Regions from separate parts of the Homo sapiens genome. Here all the other regions are linked to region 3. The links are contacts of gene promoters, found by promoter capture Hi-C in blood cells and fetal thymus (Javierre and others, 2016). All regions are on one chromosome and are shown on one strand. Each heading gives the region's core, a stretch centred on a gene start or on the middle of the fragment in contact. The rest is flanking DNA. Distances are from core to core; before and after follow the strand shown. Region 1 holds the start of TRAPPC10 (trafficking protein particle complex subunit 10). Region 2 holds the start of PWP2 (PWP2 small subunit processome component). Region 3 overlaps UBE2G2 (ubiquitin conjugating enzyme E2 G2).

The links. Contacts are between HindIII fragments. The CHiCAGO score rates a contact against its expected background, and 5 or more counts as called.
Region 1: a contact is called between the fragment with the promoter of TRAPPC10 here and a fragment that was not itself captured in region 3, in 1 of 17 cell types (naive B cells). The highest score is 5.9, in naive B cells.
Region 2: a contact is called between the fragment with the promoter of PWP2 here and a fragment that was not itself captured in region 3, in 1 of 17 cell types (naive B cells). The highest score is 6.1, in naive B cells.

The regions. Positions count from the first base shown.
Region 1 is chr21:44,010,959-44,014,342 of GRCh38, reverse strand. It overlaps TRAPPC10 (trafficking protein particle complex subunit 10), which reads right to left and starts at 2,034. Exons shown (of 23, transcript NM_003274.5): 1 at 1,783-2,034. The coding sequence starts at 1,849. RefSeq lists enhancers at 530-579, 600-659 and silencers at 1,210-1,879, 2,030-2,409. The HindIII fragment of the contact is 3,568 bases long and covers 1-2,977 here.
Region 2 is chr21:44,105,342-44,108,906 of GRCh38, reverse strand. It overlaps PWP2 (PWP2 small subunit processome component), which reads right to left and starts at 1,508. Exons shown (of 21, transcript NM_005049.3): 1 at 1,473-1,508. The coding sequence starts at 1,490. It overlaps TRAPPC10 (trafficking protein particle complex subunit 10), which reads right to left. Exons shown (of 23, transcript NM_003274.5): 23 at 2,355-3,565. RefSeq lists silencers at 1,472-1,855, 1,446-1,962. The HindIII fragment of the contact is 7,342 bases long and covers 1-3,565 here.
Region 3 is chr21:44,793,692-44,797,029 of GRCh38, reverse strand. The region is part of intron 1 of UBE2G2 (ubiquitin conjugating enzyme E2 G2); the gene reads left to right. Among named protein-coding and RNA genes, the nearest start is that of UBE2G2, 6.5 kb to the left of the region's middle. The HindIII fragment of the contact is 4,014 bases long and covers 1-3,338 here.

The DNA.
Region 1 (3,384 bases), core at 785-3,284, 780 kb after region 3:
AGATGACAATCCAATAAATCTGTAGGAAAGAAAACCGCATCCTTCAGCTGTCCGTGATGCACGCATGTACAAAACTAAACATTAAATATCTCCAACACTGGCAACCAGATAACAAACTTTACCCCTTTAGTTATGGTTGAATCCAATAGAGCTTAGGAACTTTCTCCTCAGAAATGTATTTACATAATGCCTATAAATACATATTGCTATTGAAATGTAAGCAAGCTAGGAGGTAGAAGATAAAATTAGATGTGTGGATGTCCGTACAGGCAATGAATGTGTATCCAGCATTCACAACGTGCACAGCACTTTAGGAGAAAAATGTTCAACCTCTGGAAGACAGTAAAACTTAACATGAACTGCGCATGGCTTCATCTTCCCTGAGCACTGGGAAAGCCCCTGGGAAATTGCAGGGCCTGCAGACCAGCTCTACCCACATCTGCCCTCTGGGGCTGAAGGTGCAGAGTAGGAAAAGACTTTCAGCTGACAAATATTCTGGGGAGGAAAAAAGACAGCTACTGCTGAACTATGCAAGTCTCCAATTTTAAATGAGACACAGTCCACTTCCCTAAGAAAAGTCTATCATCTCGTCTAGGTCTCTGTAGAAAAAAAAGAGAGAGGAGGAGAGGAGAAGAGACAAAATAAAGCAAAAGGAAGGAAAGAAATAAGTCTATCACCTAAAGCTGAAGCAACAAAATTCAACCTTCAATATACAGTTTCTCAGGGATCTAACAGGAAGGAACACAGCAGGTGCACACCCGCTGACAGAGTGAGAGGGAAACAGGAGTTCTCACGACATACAGTCTACTGTGGCCTGGGCACCCAGATTTTGCAACAGAGAGTGCTTCCTTTCCAAGCACGAAAGACAACTAGAAAAAAACTAACTGCATACATGCATGAAAATACAGAATACTGTCAAAGGTCAAAAATCGTAACAGTCTGAAACACCTCTCTGCAAGTCACCTAAAAGCCAACCAACAAACATTTCAATACTTCCCATAAGCTCACTGTTCTTAACCGTATTTAACTCTGGAGAGTCACACTTCTAAAATTTAGGGAACATTTTTCCCGTAACAGAAAAACAGTTCCTTTGTGTATGCATTAAAGGAGGGGTGCGGGGAGGACACGACACCCAAGAGGCACCAGGTGTCCGTAGTGTAGACTCGAGCGGGAGGCTGTTCATGGGGAGCAAGCTCGCCTAAGCGCCCGAGCCTCGGCTTTCTCATCCGTAAAATGGTTTGAGTGCGCGGCGGGGAAGTGTGTAGGAGCGAAAGCAGTCCCGGCGGCTCTGCCTGACGCTTCACCCCGCAACAAACTGTTCCTACTTCGCCAACGCCTGCAACTCTGCGAGCCCCCAAGGACTTCCCCGTAGTCGGGGAAAGGGCGCCCGCGGGCAAAACCGCCCGGCGGAAGAGGCCGGGGCCCCCAGGTCCCGGGCGCGCGGCTCAACGGGGGCGGGACGGGGCGGTGGCAGCCCCCGCTCCTCGCCCTCGACGCCGGCGCGCGCCCAGTCCCGGGCAGAGTCCGCCGGGTTCCACCGGCTCCAACTGCAGCCGGCCCGAGGGCGCCCCCCAGGGGTCAGAGGTCGCCCGGCGGGAAGGTCAGAGGGCGTCCCCGAAAAGTCAGAGGGCCCCGCCTCAGCCGCAGCCCTGGTCACACCTCCAGGAAGCGGCCCAGCCCGGAGCGCGCCGGGGGCTGAAGGTCTGGGGGCGCCGGGTGCATAACGCCAGGGCCCGGGCCCGCCCAACGACCGCCGCGCCCTCCCCGCCTCCGGGCACTCACAGGTGACGATGGGCTTGTTCTCCATGGTGTAGATCACCGGCGGCAGCGGCTCCTCAGAGGCGTCCATGGGCGTCCGGCGTCACCGGCCCGGCCCCCCGCGCCCCATGGGCAGCCCCGAGGCCGCGCCGGGCCCAGCCGGAGCCCGAGCCTGAGCGGCGCCGCCCGCCCGGCCGCGCCAGGCAGCTCCGGAGCCGGTTGCGCCGCAGCTGCCGCCCGCTGCTGCCGGCCTCAGCCACTTCCGGCCTCGGCGCCGCCGCATGACCATTTCCGGGGCGCGCGAGGCTTCACGGGGCGGGTCTTCGCCGCGCTTCGCCTCCGACGGAAGTGCGCCCGGGCCGGCCGCGCGGGACCGGGAGGTGGGAAGTGGGAGGCGGAGCGGGGCTCCCGGGACACGTCCATCTTCCTCCCTCGGCAGTGGGCGCCCCGCTGGGCCCTGCGCCGGAGCTGAGGCCAGGACTCGGCAGGCGGGCCTCGCGCGCGGTGAGCGAGCCTGGACGCTCCCGGACCAGAGACGCCGGCCTCGCTGCCCTCGCGTTCCCCGCAGCTCGGGCGTCCCGCGGCGGGCCGCTGCTCCCCGGCCGGGCTCCTTATCGCGCTGGGGGCTCCCGCAGGCCCTCGCCGCTGAGTGTCCCCGGCGCGTGCCTTCCGCCTACCGCTGGGCTCTTCCCGTTTCCCTCACGCCGCAAATGTTTTTGTGGGGACCTGGCCCTCGGCATTTCGGAATGCCACAAAATAAACCTCACACTTAACTGCATATGGGCTTCTTGTGCACGTAAACGGGGGGGGCGGGGCGCGGGTGTTTCTTTTTCTTTTTTTCTTTGGAGCAGGGTCTTCCTCAGTTGGCTCAGGCTGGAGTGCAGTGGCGGGACACGGCTCACTGCAGCCTCCACCTTCCAGGCTCAAGCGATCCTCCCGCCTTGTTTCCCCCCGCCCCACCCCCTCCGCCAGTAACTGGGACCACGGGGGCAGCCACCACGCCCAGCTAATTTTTTTCTTTTCTTTTCTTTTGTCGGGATCTCACTATGTTTTCCAGGCTGGTTTCAAACTCCTGGGCTCAAGTGATCCTCCAGCCTTGGCCTCCCAAAGTGTTGAGATTACAGGTGTGAGCCATCACTCCCAGCCATAAAATGACAAAAACTGTCAACCAAAAATAATCAAAAGGGTCAGAATCTAGAGTTTAGTCAAATGCGAAGCTTGAGGCGCCCAGGAAACATTATAAAGAATGGAAGTCAGTGTTCTCAAACGTAGAAATTTGGGGTCGTTTCTATAGCCAGCGTCTCGGGAAGCCTAACCGAATTTCAGCGTCTTTTCTGTATAAGGCCTAATGCATAGTTACAACAGTCTGTTTAGTCGAGGTGGTCTTTTTCTTTGGGGACCCACTGAAGATGAAACAGTCCTGGGGTCTCTGTGCTGTCTGGTCTAAGTCAGGTACAGGACAATGGAGACAGCTAATCTGTAACAAAAATCACCAAATGGGAAGGGGGAGACCTGGTCTTTCTTAGTCATTAACAGCAGCAGTCCCCAACCTTTTTGGCACCAGGGACCAGTTTCATAGAATGCAGTTTTTCCACAGACAAAGTTGGGGTGGTTTCAGGACGATTC
Region 2 (3,565 bases), core at 259-2,758, 690 kb after region 3:
AGAGAGATGGCATAGAGAACCCCACCTTGGGGGCCCGTTCACCTTTCCTGGGTAAGAGAGGAAGAAGTGAGCCTGATCCTCAGGAGACCAGAGGAGCCCGGGCGGCCCCAAGCTCCCACAGAGATGGGTAAGATGCCCCTGTGAGCACTGAGGAAGCCTCCCAAGACAGGAGGCGTCTGCCAGGTGAAGAGGGGCATGGAGCCCACACTTCACCAAGAAAAAAGCTGCAACAATGGAACAGCACCCCAAAAGTGCTTAGAACTCAGGGCTTCCAGAAGTGTGGTAAGCCAGCATCCTATTTACTAACTCACGAGCACGAGCGTTCACTGGAGACTGCCATGCGCACAGACACGCACACCTTATATTCTCTCTCTAGCAGGAGGGGGATGAGAAGTGTGGGAGCAGGGGCTACTTTAGACGGTGGTCACGGAGAGGCACCTGGAAGGGTCACCTGAGCTGGAATCTAAATGGGAAGGCACCAGCCAGGCCCTGAAGCTGTGAGTGGGCAGCGCCCTCAGGACCTCAGGGAGGAGCTTGGTCAGCAGAAGGACTTTAAGCGGCCAGGCAGGCTCCAAGGCACATTTTTTGCCACCTTGCAGTAGGAATGTGGAGCGGATGAAGTCCTGGCCTGTGAGGACGTGGATATGGTTTCTGGTTTGGTGCTGGGCACACAGCGGTGGCTCCACCAGCACAGGGGACACAGGAGCAGCACTCTGAGGGGCCAGTACCATGCCCAGTTTCGGACAGGACAAGTGTAGTACACGGTGGGCTCAGCAGCAGGCGGCCCGTGCAACCCTGGAAGCGCAACGGTCAGGGCCACTGTGGGAAACACAGGCGTCCCCATAACCGGCCAGCTGTAGCAAACGCTTCAGAGACCCCCAGGCCGGCTCCACGGCCCCCTCTTATTACCTGTCTCACCCGCCTCCTGCACTTCACATCTGGGACAAGTCTTCCCTGGCTCTCAAAGCTGAGGGCGTCCGCCTCAGGAATTCCCTCCGGCCTCGGGAAACAGAGCTCACACCTGGGTTCCCCGCCCTTCCGCTCACCTGGACGCTCGCTCGTTAGGGACCAGTCCCGGGCCCCGGGTCCCTGCTGTTCTCACCCCGCCTGCGCGCGCCCGCGTCCCCGCCCCGTCCCACCTCCTCATCCCTCCCGAGGGTGCTGTGCCCTCCCCGACTGCACCAACTCCAGCCTTTAGGTTGGGCCATACTCAGGTTAAAAATATCCCGGGACCCCGACAAATGTCCCTGTTCCCTCCGAGAAGCCGTCGGCGCCTCCGTCCCAGCTCTCCCAGGAGCCCCACCACAGCCCCGCGTCCCCGAGGCCACGGGCGCGCAGACAGCCGGCGACCCCCACGCGGCCAGACGCCGCAAAAGCAGACCACGCGCCCCCAGCCCGCCCGGAGCCAGCTCAGGCGCCGTCCACCGGAAGAGCCGCGCCGATCCAACAGACCGCCCGCCGCCCGCGCTCACCCGGTAAGCGAACTTCATCACGGCCGTCGCACGTGTGCCGCAGCTCAACCCGGCGGCCGCCCACAGAGACACTTCCCGGGGGTCCGCGCGGCACCGCCCACAGCACGCACTTCCGGGAAGCGACGGCGTGCACCGCCCACAGCGCGCGCGCCCGGGACGGGGTCGCGCACCACCGTCCGCAGCGGCCCAGGAGGCAGGAGGAGCTGCGTCGCCCTCGCCCCGCCCCGAGGCGGAGTTTGAACGCGAGGCCCAACCCCTCCCAAGGCGGGGGCCTTCTCCGGGCCCCGCCCACACCCCGGAGCCACACTGCAGGGCGCCTCTTAGGCGCGCTCCAGCGCTGGGCGCGCTCCGCACGGACGCCCAGCCTGGCACAGCAGCGTCCACAACATGAGAGCGCTGCACACCCAAATGTCTTCGTTCTTGTGAACTGTTGGGTAAGGAATTATGAATAAAGTCCCGAATGCTGGCCGGTGCGGTGGCTCACGCCTGGGAGACTGAGGCGGGTGGATGACCTGAGGTCAGCAGTTCGAGACTAGCCTGGCCAACATGGTGAAACATCATCTCTACTAAAGTATAAAAATGAGGCGCATGCCTGTAGTCCCAGCTACTCGGGAGGCTGAGGCAGGAGAATGGCTTGAACCTGGGAGGCGGAGGCTGCAGTGAGCCCAGATCGCGCCATTGCACTCCAGCCTAGGCAACAGAGCATGACTGTCTCAGAGAAAAAAAAAAAAAAAAAAAAAAAAATAATCCGAATGTTTCCCAAAAGGCAAATAATCTATGCCCAAGAGTCAGGAACAAGGACTAGGGAGATAAAACAATAAAATCTTCACATTACATACTGTTGTCACACCATGTCGCAGCAAAAGATCCAGTGCAAAATAGTTTCTTCTTAAAATGTGTATTTTCAGAATTACAATGCTTACATTTTAAAGTCTTAATACAATGGTTTTAATCTAACAATATATTACATAATATGAAAAATGACTTTTCATAGTAAACCATGAAAATGGAATACCTGCAGTGTCAAAGTCACCAACTTGTCACCTTTTCCAGTCACAGAATCCCAACACATTGTATTAATGATGACTGGGGGGGGTCTTACAGCCTGATGTATATAGGATGAATAAATGTAGAGAAAGGAGCATTTTCATGAAAAATAAAATTTAAAAACCAGGTAGGATTTATTTTAAAGAACACAGTTGAAAGTAAAACATTTACATCAGCCCAGTTTGCCCTTTTGTAAAAAGTAGTATAGCTTTTCATTTTATATACAAACCTGCAGTGTCTGATTTCATTTTAAAACTTAATTTTAAGCACTAAAGAAAATTTGAATAGAAGCCTGTGTGTATTTTCTCTGCTAATTCTGTATGGGATATCTGGCATCTCCACTAAGAGTAATTAATACAGGATCTGACCTTCCTAGGCTGTGCTGACAATGGAACTGTTGTAGGTAAAGTCATTTTCAGATTAAATACAACAATTTCCACATTAGAATCAGAAGAGTTATAATTTTTCCAATCATAGGACATCCCATGAAATTCACAAAAATTATAACTTATTTTATTTTCCATTTGACAGTATTTACATGTTCCACAGATATTTGTAAAACGGCTGCAAATTCCTTGCTTTTCAGATACACATTGCATATCTGGCTTCACAATTATTTAACATCTCTTTATCAACAAAACCAGCTTGTCTCAAACACATACACCTTACTTTAGATAAAAACAATAAACATCCAATTACAGTTACTCTTTTAGGACTTTTATGATGAACATTAAGAAAAAAATGACAATTTTGGGTGACATTCTTCTTTGTCTTAAAGAGGCAGAAGCATTCATGTAACATAGTTTGCAAAAGATCTTTTGGGTAATTAGGGGGAAAAAAACTGATAAATTTGATTTCATTTCATTTCCAGGCAATTAAGCGCCGTAAACATTTTAAATTTCCCCTTCACTTTCTTCCTCTAAATATATATGTAGTTGGATAATTTCATCCTGGGAGTAGAACCAGATACAAGAAAATCAAACAGTAATAAATGAAACATTCCCTCTTCCAGAAGGTAAGAGAGAAAGCTACATTACACTGGGGAA
Region 3 (3,338 bases), core at 512-3,011:
CAGACCTAAAGAGTGGGAGATTATTCTGGATTACCGTGAAGGATCCAATAATAACATAAGGCTCAAAAGCAGTCAGTGAAGGCAGGATGGGGGTGGTCAGAGAGATTCAACATATGACAAGATCTCTACCTTCTGTGGCTGGCTGTGAAGATGGAAGAAGGAGCCATGACCTAAGGAAGGCGGGCAGCCTCAAGAAGCTGAGAATGATCCCAGACCAACAGACCCGTGGAAGTGAATTCTGTCAGCAACCTCAATGAACTTGGAGTGGCAGCCCTGGTGAGACTCTGAGCAGAGAACTAGCTGGCCCATGCTGTGTCCAGACTTCTGACGCTTGGAAACTCTGAGATCATCAATGAGTATTGTTTTAAATCACTAAATTTGTGGTAATTTGTTACAGCAGTGACAGAAGATGAATACAGTGTGTTATTGAGGGGACTTTGTTTTTCCTGTATCTTAATAATGTGATAAAATTTAGTGGGTTTTTTTTGTGTATCATTTACTGGTTTTTTTTGTGTGTGTATCTTAACATCTAGTTTGTCCTCATAACGTATTTTAAGGTAGCACATTCCAGTGTAAAGGTGGACTTGACAGAATCAATCTCTACATAGAAGGGGTTTAGATAAATTTGGTTAGATGTTCATGCACACTTTATTGTATTTGGGAGTAGTCATATAACTGCAGAAATTCAGAGGTGGTGGGACCTTGGCTATGATTCTGTTCAAGCCCCCTAATTTTACAGATTTTATGGAATTGAGCAACAGACAAGATGATTTTGCCTAGGTTCATAAACAGGAAAAAAGGAGAGCCAGGAAAGAACTCAATTGTTGTAAACTGCTGTCTTGTCTTGATGTTCTGTCTTCATTCATCATCCAGCCTTTCCTAGGAGTGTCAGAGATAGACCCAGGTAGAAGTGGGCTGCCCATGGGGGGCTTAGCACAACAGAAATTTATTCTTTTACTGTTCTGGAGGCCAGACATCTAAAATAAAGGTGTTGATGGGGTCATTCTTCCTCTTGAGGGCTCGAGGGGAGAACCCTTACTTGCCTCTTCCAGCTAATGGTGATTGTTGGTCATCCTTGGCGTTTATTGTCATTCTCTTGCTTGAGGTAGTGTAATTCTAATCTCTGCCTCCATCTTCGCATGGCCATCTTCCCCCTGTGTGCATGTCCTAAATGTACATGTCTTTCTGTGGATATATGCTTTTATTTCTCCTGTGTAAATAACCAGGGTTATAATGGGAAGTGTGTGTTTAATTTTTAAAGAAACGGCCAGTTTTCCTCTAGTTCACATTTCCCTAGCAGTGTATTAAGTGTTCCCGTTGCCCCACCTCCTTGCTGACACTTCGCGTGGCCAGTTGTTTTTTGTTTTCTTTTTTCTTTCTTTCTTTCTTTTTTTTTTTGAGACAGGTTCTCACTCTGTCACTCGGGCTAGAGTGCAGTGGTGTAGTCATGGCTCATGGCAGCCTCTGCCTCCTAGGCTCAAGCAATCCTGCCACCTCAGCCTCCCAAGAAGCTGGGATTACAGTTGCATGCCACCTCGCTTAGCTAATTTTTGTATTTTTAGTAGAGATAGGGTTTCGCCATGTTGCCCAGGCTTGTCTCGAACTCGTGGGCCCAAGCAATCTGCCCGTCTTGGCCTTCCAAAGTGTTGGAATTACAACTGCGAGCCACTGCGCCCTTCCAGTTTTAAAAATTTTAGCCATTCTATTGGGTGTATAGCAGTCTTACTGAGGTTTTGTTTTATTTATTTATTTTTTTTTATTTTTTATTTTTGAGGTGCTCTCTCTGTCATCCAGGCTGGAGTGCAGTGGCATGATCTCAGCTCACTGCAACATCTGCCTCCTGGCTTCAAGTAATTCTCCTGCCTCAGCTTCCCAAGTAGCTGGGGCTATAGGCGCGTGCCACCACACCTGGCTAATTTTTGTATTTTTAGTAGAAACGGGATTTCACTATGTTGGCTAGGCTGGTCTCTAACTCCTGACCTCAGGAGTTTGCCTCGCCTCCCAAAGTGCTGGGATTTACGGGCATGAGCCACAGCCCCCGGCCCTTACTGAGGTTTTCATTTGCATTTCCATAAGACTCGTGATGTTGAGCATCATTTCACGTGTTTATTTGCCATCCATATGTCTTTTTAGATAAAGTGACTTGAGTCTTTGCTTCTTTCAAAATTGTGTTGATTTTCTTAAGTTTTAGTTCTTTGGCTGGGCGCAGTGGCTCACGCCTGTAATCCCAGCACTTTGTGGGCTGAGGTGGGCGGATCACGAGGTCAGGAGATGGAGACCATCCGGGCTAACACGGTGAAACCCCCTCTCTACTAAAAATACAAAAAATTAGCTGGGCATGGTGGCGGACCCCTGTAGTCCCAGCTACTCAGGAGGCTGAGGCAGGAGAATGGCGTGAACTTGGGAGGTGGAGCTTGCAGTGAGCCGAGATCACGCCACTGCACTCCAGCCTGGGTGACAGAGCGAGACTCCGTCTCAAAAAAAAAAAAAAACAAAAAAAGAAGGGTTTTTATTATTTCGATGAAATTCAATTATTGACTTTTAAAATATTTCTTGCTATTGTGTTATATTTAAGAAATAACTGCCAAACATCAGGTGGCAGTAGGATTTTCTCCTATGATTTCTTCTAGATGTTTTATAGTTTCAGCTCTTGTATTTAGGTTTGGGATCCATATCAAAGTTTTCCATATGGTATGAGATAAAGGCCAAGGTTTATTTGTAAATTATTTGTAAATGGCAGTGCAGTTGTTTCAGCACTGTGTTTGCTAGGGCTGCTCTACCACACAGGCTGGGCACGGCTTAAACAACAGAAATGTATTTCCTCATAGTCCTGGAGGCTGGAAGTCCAAGATCAAGGATAGGGCAGGGCTGGTTTCTTCTGAGGCTCTGTCCTCTATGCCTGTGTCCTCATCTCTTCTTAAAAGGATATTAGTCAGATTGGATTAAGGTCCACCCTAATGACCACATTAATTTTAATTACCTCTTAAAGGCCCTAGTCACACACTTTTCTCCACCTTCTTTTTTTTCATGTAATATGTCCTGAAGTTTGTTCTGTACTAGCATGTAGAGGTATTTATAGCTGCAAAGTACCCCACTGGTATATGTATCATAATTTGACTGGTCCTCTGTTGATAGACACTCAAGTTCTTTTTAATTTCTTTTTGTTTTTACAAATAGTCCTGAAATGAATAGCCTGTGTATACATTTTTTATCTTCACCAATGTTATCTGTGGGATGGATTCCTAGAAATGGAATTGCTGGGTCAAAGGTTATATTTCACTTTGTGTGGTAGCTATTTGTTAAGCCACTATTTTAAGTGGCAAGGAATGGCCTCTGAA